Linked DNA regions of Homo sapiens: region 2 is linked to region 1. The links are contacts of gene promoters, found by promoter capture Hi-C in human tissues and cell types (Jung and others, 2019). All regions are on one chromosome and are shown on one strand. The core of a region is centred on a gene start or on the middle of the fragment in contact, and the rest is flanking DNA. Distances in the headings are between cores, read along the strand shown. Region 1 holds the start of L1TD1 (LINE1 type transposase domain containing 1). Region 2 overlaps NFIA (nuclear factor I A).

Evidence for each region. Contacts are between HindIII fragments. The study calls those that stand out against the background at their distance.
Region 2: a contact is called between a fragment that was not itself captured here and the fragment with the promoter of L1TD1 in region 1, in 1 of the 25 tissues and cell types used here (hippocampus).

The regions. Positions count from the first base shown.
Region 1 is chr1:62,188,932-62,196,098 of GRCh38, forward strand. L1TD1 (LINE1 type transposase domain containing 1) reads left to right here and starts at 5,918. Exons shown (of 4, transcript NM_019079.5): 1 at 5,918-5,990. It also overlaps the pseudogene PIGPP2 and the pseudogene RPS15AP7. RefSeq lists enhancers at 5,061-5,917, 5,918-6,773. The HindIII fragment of the contact is 18,338 bases long and covers 1-7,167 here.
Region 2 is chr1:61,161,342-61,168,508 of GRCh38, forward strand. The region is part of intron 2 of NFIA (nuclear factor I A); the gene reads left to right. Among named protein-coding and RNA genes, the nearest start is that of NFIA, 82 kb to the left of the region's middle. The HindIII fragment of the contact is 4,667 bases long and covers 1,983-6,649 here.

The sequences.
Region 1 (7,167 bases), core at 4,668-7,167:
CAGCCTCCCAAGTAGCTGGGACTGCAGGCGCCCGCCACCACGCCCAGCTAATTTTTGTATTTTTAGTAGAGACGGGGTTTCACCGTGTTAGCCAGGATGGGTCGATCTCCTGACCTCGTGATCCGCCTGCCTCGGCCTCCCAAAGTGCTGGGATTACAGGCGTGAGCCACCGCGCCCGGCCTCCCTCATTTTTTCTTGTCTCCCCCTCCTGCAGCTTCCTGATCACTAGCACAGAGGACCCAGCGCTGAGACTGTCTAAAGCCGTAGGATAGTCATGGAGAATTCACCATTACATCTGCCAGAAAGAGCAATGTATGGCTCTGTTCTTTTCTTAAACTCCCAATTTGGCTTCATGCCTTGTCTACTATGGACTTTGGCTCCTGAATCTTGGCAAAATTCTTCATGCTTAAATTATTGGCTTCAAAAATACTGGGCAGTTGCATTACCTGTCTACCTCCTTAGTACTATAGTAACCAGTTATGTACTCTTTTTTGGCACTAAAGTAATGAGTATCTCTCTCTCCACTCAACTCCATTCGTAAAATCATACGCAACTATTCCAAAAATTAACAGCGAAAAAAATACCAAGGGCCGGGCGCGGTGGCTCAGGCCTGTAATCTCAGCACTTTGGGAGGCCGAGGCGCTGTAATCTCAGCACTTTGGGAGGCCGAGGCGGGCGGATCACGAGGTCAAGAGATTGAGACCATCCTGGCTAACATGGTGAAACCCCGTCTCTACTAAAAATACAAAAAATTAGCCGGGCGTGGTGGCGGGCGCCTGTAGTCCCAGCCACTGGGGAGGCTGAGGCAGGAGAATGGCGTGAACCCGGGAGGCGGAGCTTGCAGTGAGCCGAGATCCCGCCACTGCACTCCAGCCTGGGCGACACAGCGAGACTCCGTCTCAAACAAAACAAAACAAAACAAACGAAAAAAATACCAAGAAGCCATACCAGCATTAACACATATTCCTGTTAATGAAGTTAACCTAATGTTCTTTTTGGCAACCAAGAACTTTATACCAAAAACTGAATTGTATATAGATATTCTAACACCAAACATTTATATGTTTTTGCCATTATAATTGTGACCGTAATTATTTTTATCTCCTATTAAGATGTATTGAAATGTAAAATAAAACATACATCTAACTTATCTTTAAATTCCATTAATATTGTAAATGTTCTCAAATATTAGTTACTAATGGACAGAATTTTACAATACTTCATGAATATTTTTTAAAAAGGCCAGGCATGTTGACTCACGCCTGTAACTCCAGCACTTTGGGAGGCCGAGGTGCGTGGATCACCTGGGGTCAGGAGTTTGAGACCACCCTGGCCAACATGGTGAAACCCCAACTGTACCAAAAATACAAAAATTAGCTGGGCATGGTGGTGCATGCCTGTAGTCCAAGCTACTTGGGAGGCTGAGGCAGGAGAATCGCTGGAACCCGGGAGGTGGAGGTTGCAGTGAGCCGAGATTGCACCATCGCACTCCAGCCTGGGCAACAAAATCAAAACTCCGTCTCAAAAAAAATAATAATAATTAAAAACAACAACAACAAGCTCTTTCTGCCGTCTTACTGTGCCACCATAATGGTGCACATAAATGTCCTGGCAGATGTTCTCAAGAGCATCAACAATGCTGAAGAGAGAGGCAAAGGCTAGGTTCTTATTAGGCTTTGCTCCAAAGACAACATCTGGTTTCTCACTCTGATGATGAAGCATGTTCAAATGTTCAAATTTGAACATTGGCAAATTTGAGGTCATCGATGATCACAGAGCTGGGAAAATTGTTGAGAATCTCTCAGACAAGGTTACACAAGTGTGCAGTGATCAGGCCCAGATTCGACATATAACTCAAAGATCTAGAAAAATGGCAGAATAATCTCTTCCCTTCCCCTCTGTTTGGTTTCATTGTACTGACAACCTCACCTGACATCATGGGCCATGAAGAAGCAAAATGAAAACACACAGCGAGTAAAATCCTGGAATTCTTTTTCTAGGGATGTAATACACATGTACAAATAAAATGCTTCAGTGGACAAACAAAACAAAACAAAGCAACTGTTTAGGCCAACTTATCTGCTGGAAGTTCTCCAAGTACCGTAGAGGCAGCATGCACCAGCATCAAGGCCTCTGCTGTAGGACACCACCACCTCACTAGCCTATTCCCTTTGCCACCAGCCAGCTCCACTTCTTCATATAAATAGGCCTTGATTGGCCCATTGGAACCCAGAACCCAGTCTTTTTACCCCAAATCTAGTAGCATAGGGCTGGAAGTGAAATATAATAAGGATGGGGCACAGCACCTCTTTCATAATTTTTTTTTTTTTTGAGATGGAGTCTTGCTCTGTCGCCCAGGCTGGAGTGCAGTGGTGCAATCTTGGCTCTTACGGGTTCTATGCCATTCTCCTGCCTCGGCTTCCTGAGTAGCTGGGACTACAGGGGCCAGCCACCAAGCCTGGCTAATTTTTTTATATTTTTAGTAGAGACGGGGTTTCACCGTGTTAACCAGGATGTTCTCGATCTTCTGAGCTCGTGATCTGCCCGCCTCCGCCTCCCAAAGTGCTGGGATTACAGGCGTGAGCCACCGCACCCCGCCCATAATGTTTAACCTTGCCTTTTACTTAAAAGAATTCCGGGAACTGGCTTTAGGAAATCTAAATATTAAACTAAGGTTGTGGAGTGTCCCACCTCAGGAAGAAATGCTGAACAATTGATTTACAGCCTTGTTGCTGTTCGCCAGACCACCAGGTGGGTGATCCATTACTCAATAAAGCCATCAAAACCAGATAAGGCTGACCCGCATACTCTACCCCTCATGTGCTTTGCCCAGCCCAACCTGCATACTCTACCCCTGATTGTCTAATAAAGCAGAGTTAGTCAGGTAGTCCTCTCCGTTATGTCTGTGCATAAGCTCTAACAAGCCTTGTATGGGAACACTCCTTCAGCCTCATGTCAATTTCTATTGCACTGAGAGCCCAAGAACACGTGATCTTAAGTAACAGAAGGCTTTAACCTTTAAAAAATCTAATCACAGTAATCTTATTACACTGAAATTAACAGTTATTCTTTTTCTTTTTCGAGACGGAGTCTCGCTCTGTCGCCCACGCCGGAGTGCAGTGTCATGATCTCGGCTCACTGCAAGCCCCACCTCCCGGGATCACGCCATTCTCCTGCCTCAGCCTCCGGAGTAGCTGGGACTACAGGCGCCGGCCACCACGCCCGGCTAATTTTTTTGTATTTTTTAGTAGAGACGGGGTTTCACCGTTTTAGCCAGGATGGTCTCGATCTCCTGACCTCGTGATCCGCCCCGCCTCGGCCTCCCAAAGTGCTGGGATTACAGGCGTGAGCCACCGCGCCCAGCCCAACAGTTATTCTTAATATCATCAAATATCCAGTCAGTGTTCAAATTTTCGTTTTTTTTGTTTGTTTGAGACAGGGTCTTGCTCTGTCACCCAGGCTGGAGTGCAGTGGCACGATCTCAGCTCACTGCAACCTCCGTTTCCCAGGTTCAAGCGATTCGCCTGCCTCAACCTCCTGAGTAGCTGGGATTACAGGCACACACCACAACGCCTGGCTAATATTTGTACTTTTATAAGAGATGGGGTTTCACCATATTGGCCAGGCTTACCTCAGGTCTTAAACTCCTGACCTCAGGTGATCCACCTGCCTTGGACTCCCAAAGTGCTGGGATTACAGGCTTGAGCCACCTTGCCCAGTTTTTTTTTTTTTTTTTTTTAGACAAGGTCTTGCTCTGTCACCCAGGCTGGAGTGTAGTGGTGTGATTGTAACTGCCCAATGGGTTCACCTTGCCCACTGCCTACACAGAGCCCATTTATCAAGACAGGGGAATTGCAATAGAGAAAGAGTAATTCACACAGAGTGGGCTGTGTGGGAGACCAGAGTTTTATTACTCAAATCAATCTCCCCAAGCATTCAGGGATCAGAGTTTTTAAGGACAACTTGGTGGGAGGGGGGAAGCCAGTGAGCTGGGAGTGCTGATTGGTCAGATCAGAGATGAAATCATAGGGAGTCAAAGCTGTCTTCTTGCGCTGAATCAATTCCTGGGTGGGGGCCACCAAGATCATATCAGCCAGTTTATTGATCTGGGTGGTACCAGCTGATCCGTCAAGTGCAGGATCTGCAAAATATCTGTGGAATATCTCCCTGGTCTTAGGTTTTGCAGTAGTGGTCTTATCCCCAGAAGCCATTTGGGGAGAGTCAGAGTCTTGTAGCCTCCAGCTGCATGACTCCTAAACCATAATTTCTAATCCTGTGGCTAATTTGTTAGTACTGCAAAGGCAGTCTAAATCCCCAGGGTTTGTTTCGGGAAAGGGCTGTTATCATCTTTGTTTTAAACTATGAACAAGTGATCCTCCCACCTCAGCCTCCCAAAGTGCTGGGATTTTAGGCAGTAAGAAGAAATAAGGGATTAAAAGCAAAAGACCGAATTCTCTTTGTTTATTCATATGCTGTGTATTGACTGAACTACCAGATATTGAGGCTTCTTTGCTTATTAGCTGCATGACTTTGGGCAAGTCAAGTTCCACCTGAGCCTTGCAAGTCAGGCCTGGGGAGTCCAACCACCCAGAACCTTTGAGTCTCTGTTAGAGAGCAAGACCCTCTCTTAAGAAACAAAAATAAAACAAAAAAAGAGTATTGGGATATGGGGAGTTTGGCTCCTGTAGAAAGGGTAGTCTGGGAGGCCTGTTAGAGGAGTTAACATTGGACCTGAGACCTGAGGATGAACAGAAGCCATCCTGAAAGAACTGGGAAAATAAAGAGGTGGCCAGGCGTGGTGGCGCACGCCTGTAATCCCATCACTTTGGGAAGCTGAGGTGGGCGGATCACCAGGTCAGAAGTTCAAGACCAGCCTGACCAACATGGTGAAACCCCCCTCTACTAAAAATACAAAAACTAGCCAGGCGTGGTGGCATGGGCCTGTAATCTCAGCTACTCAGGAGGCTGAGGCAGGAGAAATCGCTTGAATCCAGGAGGCAGAGGTTGCAGTGAGCCGAGATTGCGCCACTGCACTCCAGCCTGGGTGACATAAGAAAACTCTGTCTCAAAAAGAAAAAAAAAAAATACAAAAATTTTCCGGGAGTGGTGGCGTGCTCCTGTAATCCCAGCTACTTGGGAGGCTAAGGCAGGAGAATTGCTTGAACCCAGGAGGCCGGGGTTGCAGTGAGCCAAGATCATGCCACTGCACTCCAGCTGTGGCAACAGAGACTGTCTCAAAAAAAAAAAAAAAGAAAGAAAGAAAGAAAGAAAAAGAAAAAAATAACTCGCAGAGGAAACAGCCAGTGCAAGGGCCCTGAGGCAGGTAGTTCCGTGTTTTTTGAGGAACAGAAAGAGAGTGTTTCTGTTGTAAGAGTAGTGCTAAGACAATGTTGAAGGGGCAGTCCGGATAGAATGAGAAGGTAGAAATTTAACCGAAACAGGAAGCCACTGAACAGTATTGGAGGGGGAGAAGGATTACAGAGGGGTCGTGGGAGAGGCCAGGGAGCAGTTGGAGGTGATTTCAGTGATCCAGGTGAGAGACAACGGGGGCTTGGACTGGGCTGGAGCTGTGGAGTTGGAGAGACGCCGGCAAATTCAAGGACTTAGGAATGGATTAACTGCGAGGGTTGAAGAAAAGGAATGAGGTGACCTTGGGGTTCAGGCCTGGGTGATGAGGCGCTTTAGTGGTGCCTTTATTCAGATTTGAGTCTGGAGTCGGGTCTGAGGGGTGGGGCTCGTTCAAGCGGAGGCACGGTGGAGACAGAGGGAATTGGACTCAGTCGGGGGGCAGCAATGGAAGTCAGCAATTGCTTAGGGCGGAATGCGATTTCCGGGGAGGAGGCGCGGGTATGTAGACAGAGGGGGTTGGGACACACCAGGAGGGGAGGAGCCAGCCCCAGAGATCGGGAATCCTCTCAGTCCTTAGTTACAAGGCTCCATCCTCACTTTGTTCGCTCCTCAGTCGTCCAGGCGGATTCCTTTTTCGCCAGGTAAGGCTGGCCCGGGTGCATGGGGCCCGGCGTGCCCTGGGTAAGGCTGGCCCAGGCGCGTGGGGTCCGGGGCGCGCCGGGTAAGGCTGGGCCAGGCGCGTGGGGTCCGGGGTGCCCCGGGTAAGGCTGGTCCAGGGGCGTGGGGTCCGGGGTGCCCCGGGTAAGGCTGGTCTAGGCGCGTGGGGTCCGCAGCGCCCCAAGTAAGGCTGGTCCAGGAGCGTGAGGTCCAGGGTGCCCCGGATAAGGCTGGTCCAGGCGCGAAGGGCGCGGGGTGCCCCGGGTAAGGCTGGCCCAGGTACGTGAGGCCCGAGGTGCCCCAGGCAAGGCTGATCCGGGTGCGTGCGTGGGGCCCGGGTAGGGGCAGGCAGTTGGCCCCCTCACTTGACTCCCTGCTCTTTCCCTTACTGTCCGTGGCGCAATGAGAAAAAAACTCTCCTAAGACTTATCTATCCCCAAATTGGAAACATGAAAGTAGTTCTGTGAAGAAAAAATAAAGTCAAGAAAATGAGGTGGTGCTTGACAAGTCCTAGCTTTAGAAAAAGGATGGAGGGGCCGGGAGCAGTGGCTCACGCCTGTAATCCCAGCACTTTGGGAAGCCGAGGCGGGCGGATCACCTGAGGTCGGAGTTCGAGACCATCCTGACCAACATGGAGAAACCTCGTCTCTACTAAAAATACAAAATTAGCCAGGCGTGGTGGCGCATGCCTGTAATCCTAGCTACTCAGGAGGCTGAGGCAGGAGAATCGCTTGAACCCGAGAGGCAGAGGTTGCACTGAGACGAGATCGCGCCATTGCGCTCCAGACTGGGCAACAGGGGCGAAACTGTCTCAAATAAAAAAAGATGGAGGGCCGGGCGTGTTATTTTCCAGCACTTTGGGAGGCCGAGGCGGGGGCGGATCACGAGGTCAGGAGATCGAGACCATCCTGGCCAACTTGGGAAACCCCGTCTCTACCAAAAATACAAAATTAGCCGGGTGTGTTGGCTCGCGCCTGTAGTCCCAGCTACTAGGGAGGCCGAGGCAGGAGAATCGCTTGAACCGGGGAGGCGGAGGTTGCAGTGAGCCGAGATCGGGCCACTACACTCCAGCCTGGGCGGCAGAGCGAAACTCCGTCTCAAAAAAAAAAAAAAGTGTTTAATTATGTGACTGGAAAAATTGATTTGGAAGTAATAACTTTT
Region 2 (7,167 bases), core at 3,066-5,565, 1.0 Mb before region 1:
ATGTACAGAGAAGACCTCCTCGATGAGGTCTAACAACTTCTGTTCTAGACACAAGTCTGATTTTTCATTCCAGAGCAGCAAATAAAGTCATAGTGGACAGCTGCTTCAGTCTGGAAACTAGAAACAAACAAGAGGTGTTAGCTGGCAGCTGAACAATGAAGAAAGACATGGAGACACTGTCCAAGAGGTCGAGATGGATAGTAGCTTGAGATCCTCTCTTTCTCTCTAGACATGCGCCATGTGCAACACACACACACACACACACACACACACACACACGCAGACAGTCTCTGACTTTCAACGGTTTGACTTTATGATGAGTTTATCAGGATGTAACTCTGTCACAAGTTGAGGAGCATGTGTTTATGTGTGTATGTGTATCCGTATACATTTACATTTATATATACACACACACACACCCCTCTATAATCCTGTATACTTAAATTCCTAAATAGTTGTTTGGGTGTTCACTATATTGGAACGCTTTAACTTGTGTTCTTAATAATATCTTTAGGAAAAGATTAAAGCATGTTTCTGCATATAATAATATTAGTAACAAATGATGGAAGATTTTGCTCCAAAATGAGTTAATGTAGAAAACAGGTAGTGATTAAAGTGGTGAATGTAAGCAATTTTGTAAATTTATAAAGTCATAGACATCTGTAGTTATGAAGGACCTCATAGATAATTTTCTCCAGTGGTTTCAAATATTATTTAAATAGGAATGTTTCCTTCAGGACCAAATCTGTGGAGAAGCTATGTACATGTATTTATTTTTTTAAGTTGAAAAGTATGCGAGTACTGGATCCATATTATTAATAACTTTGGCCCACCTGTTCTTTCTCCCAGAAGCAGCCCCAGTTGGAATCAGCCCCTAGAGCGAGGAGTCACCTGGGAAGCTTGTTACATGCAGATTCTGATTCTGTGTGTCTGGGAAGGCACCTGAGACTCTGCATTTCAGATAAACTCCTAATGTGTTAAACATGCATTGGCCACATTTTGAGAAGCAAGGCCCTGGGGGAAACTGTGCACGTAGTTCGAAAACCTTTGATGGGTTAACTTCTTCATGTTTCAAATGTGAAAAGACAGAGTTATAAATGATCTGCCAAAAGCCACATGCTTACCTGGGGTCTTGAGTCTTGGGAAGGCTGTGTTCTTTTACCCAAGGCCTGGGTGGGATGGCTGTGTCCTTACCCTTTGGGCTGAAGGAGGCATCCTAGTACCAGGGTTCCACGGGCACTATCCGTATTCTTAGTTTCTATCATGATAGATTATGCTGGGAACTTGTTCCTTTTAGCCCACTATCTGTCCCATGGAAAACAGTACTCTGAATCAGACCCCATGGAGGGTGGAACATTCTGATTAGCCAGCAAGGGCAGTTAGGCCCGTAGCTGTGGTGTCTGCTGCCACAGCAGAATGGATAAGCAGTTCTCAGCCACCACCCCCCACAACATAATCCATAAAACTCTTTCAACCTTTTTTTTTTTTTTTGCATGTCTAGTGTTTGCAAATGGAAAATGGCTGAGGAAAAACAGAGTGAAAGTTTATATAAAATATTTATACCTTAAAGATCTTTTATCTTGTGTCATTCAAGAGAGAAGTGAAAAATGTATTGGGAGTACATTATCAAGAGTACATTATAAATTTAAATCTCAGATTGAATAATATCAGCTGCTAATGTGTGGAGCTTTGGAAATGAGTCACTTTTGAATCTCAAGAACTTAACTGTACCAGGTCAGTTACACTTAAGAAGGAAGTGCCTTTTGAAAAAAGAAAAATCCTATACCGGAATAAAGACTTATACTAATGGGCATTAAAGATCAAATACTTGACATAATATTCATGTTAGAATGTAGCTACATAGGAATAAGTTGTAGGATCTGAGACACTTTATGGAATGTTTCTCAAAAACAATCAAATAATTTTGGTCTTTTCTTTGTGAAGCAATATAACCTGTGGTTACGAGTTATGTGTCTTAGAAAGACTTAGATTTGAATTCTCTGTCTGCTGCTTGTTAGCTGTGCCATTTTGGATCAGTTCTTTTCTTTGAGACTCACTTTATTTTAAAGCAAAGTTAATATACCTACCTAATTGGTTTTTTTTGTAAAGGATTAAACATCATGGTATTTGTAAAGCATTCAGCACTTTGCCTAGAATTTTATAGTTCCAGTAAATAGTAGCTATTTTTATCATTATTGTCACCATGATATTGTTTTTAGACCTAACTAGTATTGCATCATTCTTTGGTGACCTGGTGGTGTGCTATGGAAGCGAAATTGGTGTGCCTGTTGAAAAAGTTAGTAGTCAGAAAAAAAGACATACTTTTATAAGTGAGACTGTGACTATTATGCTGGACACCTGCATTCTAACTAGCAAAACAGAAAATACTTTGTTGGTTTTAATGGTGCTTTGTTTTTATACTGCATGGTATCTATTTTTGTATGCTGGGGTCTTAAAATGCTTGGAGCATCTAGAGAGGTAACTAAAGGAATGAAGTAGGCCATAGACATAGCAACAGCCCATGTCCCATTGAAAGGCCATGAGTCCCAGTTGAGGCCCCTTGGCTCTAGCCAATTGGTGCTGTGTGAAAATCTGGGCCCAGTGTTGTCAGTTCTTTTAATTTTTTCCTAAGAATCTGGAAGTGCAGATTTTTACATGAATCATAGGATGCTTTAAATAATTGCAGCTGTATCTTGAGAATGCTGTTGGCTGCAAGAAAGAAAAATTTTAGTTTAACAGTGGTCTAAACAAAGATTTTTTTTTCTTACATAGCAGTGAGTCCAGCAGTAATAGCTAGTGTTTTTATTTGCTCACTAATACCAACAAGAATTTAGACACTTTCCATTTTTCTGTCCTGACATGCTTCATTTGTTGACTTGAAAAAAAAAAGTGCTTGTCATTTATGGTTGCCATATGTATGTTGAAGGTAGGATAATGAAGGAGATACATTAGACTAGCCTTATTTATTCCATTTATCAGGAAAGTGAAAACTTTTCCAGAAACTACACAGGAGACATCCCTTATGATTTACTGGCCAAAACTGGGTCATTCTGGCTGCAAGGAAGCTTGGGAAAATGTCTCAAGCTTTCTTTTTTTTGTTGTTATGTGTTTTTTTTGTTTGTTTGTTTGTTTTTTGGAGATGGAGTATTGCTCTGTCGCCCAGGCTGGAGTGCAGTGGCGTGATCTCAGCTCACTGCAAGCTCTGCTTCCTGGGTTCACGCCATTCTCCTGCCTCAGCCTCCCGAGTAGCTGGGACTACAGCCGCCCGCCGCCACGCCCGGCTAATTTTTTTGTATTTTTAGTAGAGATGGGGTTTCACCATGTTAGCCAGGATGGTCTCAATCTCCTGACCTCATGATCTGCCCACCTCAGCCTCCCAAAGTGCTGGGATTACAGGTGTGAGCCACCACGTCCAGCCAAATGTCTCAAGCTTTCTAGCCTCTACAGTGGGAGATGGTGAAGAAGTGGGAAATCATTGTTGCACTTACTAGTGAACAGTTGCTGTCTGGCACAGCAGCTAACTCAACATGAAACCCAACTGCAGGACCTGAAGACCCTGTGGCCTGCAGTATTTATCAAAAATCTTCAGATTGGGGATTATAAAGTGAAGGTATCATTTGGGTGGAAAGGAGGAGGGTCGGAGAGGCAGCCAGTGCTTTATTTTTTTGTTTAAATGGTTTCGTATTATATATACGATAGGTCATTGCTAACAATGTGCAAACTGTTGAGGGAACATTGTATAAATTTATTTCTTGGAAAAGTTTATTTAGAGTTTTAGTGGAGAAGCTAGAGAAGAAAATACCATTTAATGTTATTTCTGTACTGCTATATTACATTTTAATATATGAATTACTCTATTTTTTAAAAATGATGGATAAACTACACTTCCCTTTAGTTGTTTTTATTCTGAGATAAATGCCTGTTTTGTAAATCATTGTTACCTGATTTTGGTAATCTCTATTAGAAAGAAATCTCTTTTTATTAATATCTGTATACTTAACTCAGACACTGGGAAATTCTTGCAAAATGCTTTACAAAAGCAGCCATTTTAAGCTGATTAAAAGTATATTCTATATGCATGTATGTAGTTGAAGTGCTACCAAACCACGTATGTATTTAGTTAACTAAACTCAAGAATCATGGAAGTTTGAAGAACTCCAAATCACAGCTAAGAATGCACTAAAGGAAAACCATATCTGTTTGACTCCAGCAAATTGACTCGTGTGATATTTTTGCTTACACCTTTCTGCAGCTTAACTGCTGAGTTAGCTGTTCTTTAATGTCCTTGACAAATTCAGGAAGTCATCACATGTAGATAAATTGAGAAAAATATTTCTGCCAATTTGGTCCTGATCATTTCTTCTTGGGGTTATAAATTTGGGTTTTCATGATCTAGATGTTAATAAAAAAGAACCCCAGATAATCTGAAGGGTTACTCCTCAATATTACTATGATAAGTTTAGGGTCTGTGAGTTGGCTGCCTACTGAGTACCTAAAAGCATGGGAACTTTTACAACATATAATCCAATACGTAATCACTTTGTCAGGCTGAGCAAGTTAGTGGAATCTTTAGTAATACTACGATAATTAAATAGTTAAGCTATAGGATAAAAGGCAAAACTGTTTTATTAGGGAAGACTATGCTTAGACAGTCTTTTAGAATGATTGAAAGGGTATATAGATATGAGAACCAGTCTGCTATTCCAAATAATCTAGTTAGGATTAAAAATAAAAATTTTGTCCAGATGCTGTATGAAAATCTACTTTATAGTAGGATTATAATTATTGCTTTGTTTTAATAGGGGACTCTTAGAGACAAGGAAGAAAAGAGTAGGGAAACCTATTTGTATAGGAAAATATAGTACATTTCCATTCAATATCTACCTATAATGTGAGAGATTATGCCAGACGCATTGAAATTGCTGTCTTTAATCTTCATCCCAATCTTATAAATTAGCTTTTGTTACCACTGTTTCCTTGATGAGGATGCCAAGTCCACACCAAATGACTTGCCTGAGATATGTATTCATTACATTTTGGAGTTGAGCTTTGAACCCAGCTCCGTCTGTGTTCCATACTCATTTCTTTTCCCTGTATCAGAAGATCCACCCACACTGGCCAACTGAGAAGAAAAATAGCAGATGGGCTTAAATATGGGTAAATGTATGATAATGTACTTAGTGAAGAAACACCTACCAAACTACTTATAGTTTATAGACTCTTAGGTGTTAATTTTAACTCATGAAAGAAACCTGGGAGTCATAGGTTTCTTTCTTAAATATGGGTAAATATATGATAATGTACTTAGTGAAGAAACACCTACCAAACTACTTATAGTTTATAGACTCTTAGGTGTTAATTTTAACTCATGAAAGAAACCTGGGAGTATAGGCTCTCTCAGCATGATTATTGTCTCTTCCCTACAGTCAATTCAGGAGGGTTTATTGAGGACCTACTTTGTGTGAGGATAAATATAGTGTTCTTGTACTTAAAGAACTTACATCTTTTCCTTCCTTCTGGCCGGGCGCAGTGGCTCACGCCTGTAATCCCAACACTTTGGGAGGCCAAGGCGGGCGGATCACAAGTTCAGGAGATCGAGACCATCCTGGCTAACACGGTGAAACCCCATCTCTACTAAAAATACAAAAAATTAGCCGGGCGAGGTGGCACACACCTGTAATCCCAGCTACTCGGGAGGCTGAGGCAGGGGAATGGCATGAACCCAGGAGGTGGAGGTTGCAGTGAGCTGAGATCATGCCACTGCACTCCAGCCTGGGTGACAGAGTGAGACTCTGTCTAAACAAAAAAAGAATTTACATATTTTCCCATAAGACATTTCTTATGTTCCCATAGTGAGAAAAATAACCCTGTAAAAACCTCTTTAAGCAATATCTCAATCTGTATGGCAAGGAAGATAGATGAGTGTACTCATGTATGATCGTGTACTGATTTGGAGTATGTTTTGGAAATGAAGACTAAAACTTTCACTTTAAAATAAGGTTACTTTTCTCTAAAGGAGGCATTTTCTTTGTAGAGTCATTATGATATTATTTCATAGCTATTAAAATTTGCTATCTTGATGCTTGGTTATTCACTGAAAGGAATGAAATATTTATTAAGGTCATATTACTGTTGTGTACAAAGGGAGCCACAGGGTGACTTTTATGCTATGCCTTTTTGGTAGCGGTGTTTCTGCTGGGTTGCATCAATGTCTGTAGATTTTATTGATTATAATTAAGTCAGTCTGCATTGTCTCTGAGAATTTACATGGCTTTAAAAATCAATCTCTCACATACTCATTTTTTGAAATAATTTGAAAAAGGATCTCAGTAGAAGGGACAAATCTACAACTATTAATCCTGTTGTTATTTGTTTGAGCCAAAAATGGTGTTATTTCTCATTAAAACATTTGCAGGTTTTAGGTGTTATGATCCTTTTAGTTTTCTTTTAATTTCATTTTCTCTACCACCAAGCTTTCAAAGGCATTTTACAGCTTATTTTTATCTCTGGTAGATTTCTGGGTATGCCTGGCAAAACCCCTAGCTCAAATCCTGAAGGTTATTTAAATTCCAGTGTTGGATGCTCTCCACATATATAGATTTTGATGTACACTTAATAAGATTAGGAAGATTTTATGCCAGTTGATACCTTGCATGTACATGATGGATCAGATAAAGGACCATCAGAGGGCTAGTGGGTCTGAGCTTTGATTGCAGGTAGTGGGGAACATTGTCAGAGCTTTTTTTGTGTTACTTTAGGTATACATTTTTAAGCCAAGTTTAGCACATATATTTATGTTAACTTGGGGCATTAATAATCATATAAGCTTGTGGAATTAACCCATACAGATATAGAAAAGCAAAGCCCTAATCAATAGTGCAAAGACCAGTTGTGATTTTTAAAAACCACTGCTTCTGTGGAAGTGCAAGCATTGACTTATGTTTACATTATTTTTCTAAAGCAACTGATTTCAGTGACACCTACTTCTGCCTAAATTGGCTGTCTCTGCGTGTGCATGTATATTAAAGGTATATATTGAGAGATATATTTGAAAAAGTTATAGTTTTTGAAATAAAAAATACCCTAGTAAATTGCCCTTTTATGATGGGGAATGATTAAATAAAACAGCATTATTTATAACATTAACTAGAATTAAATATACAGCTG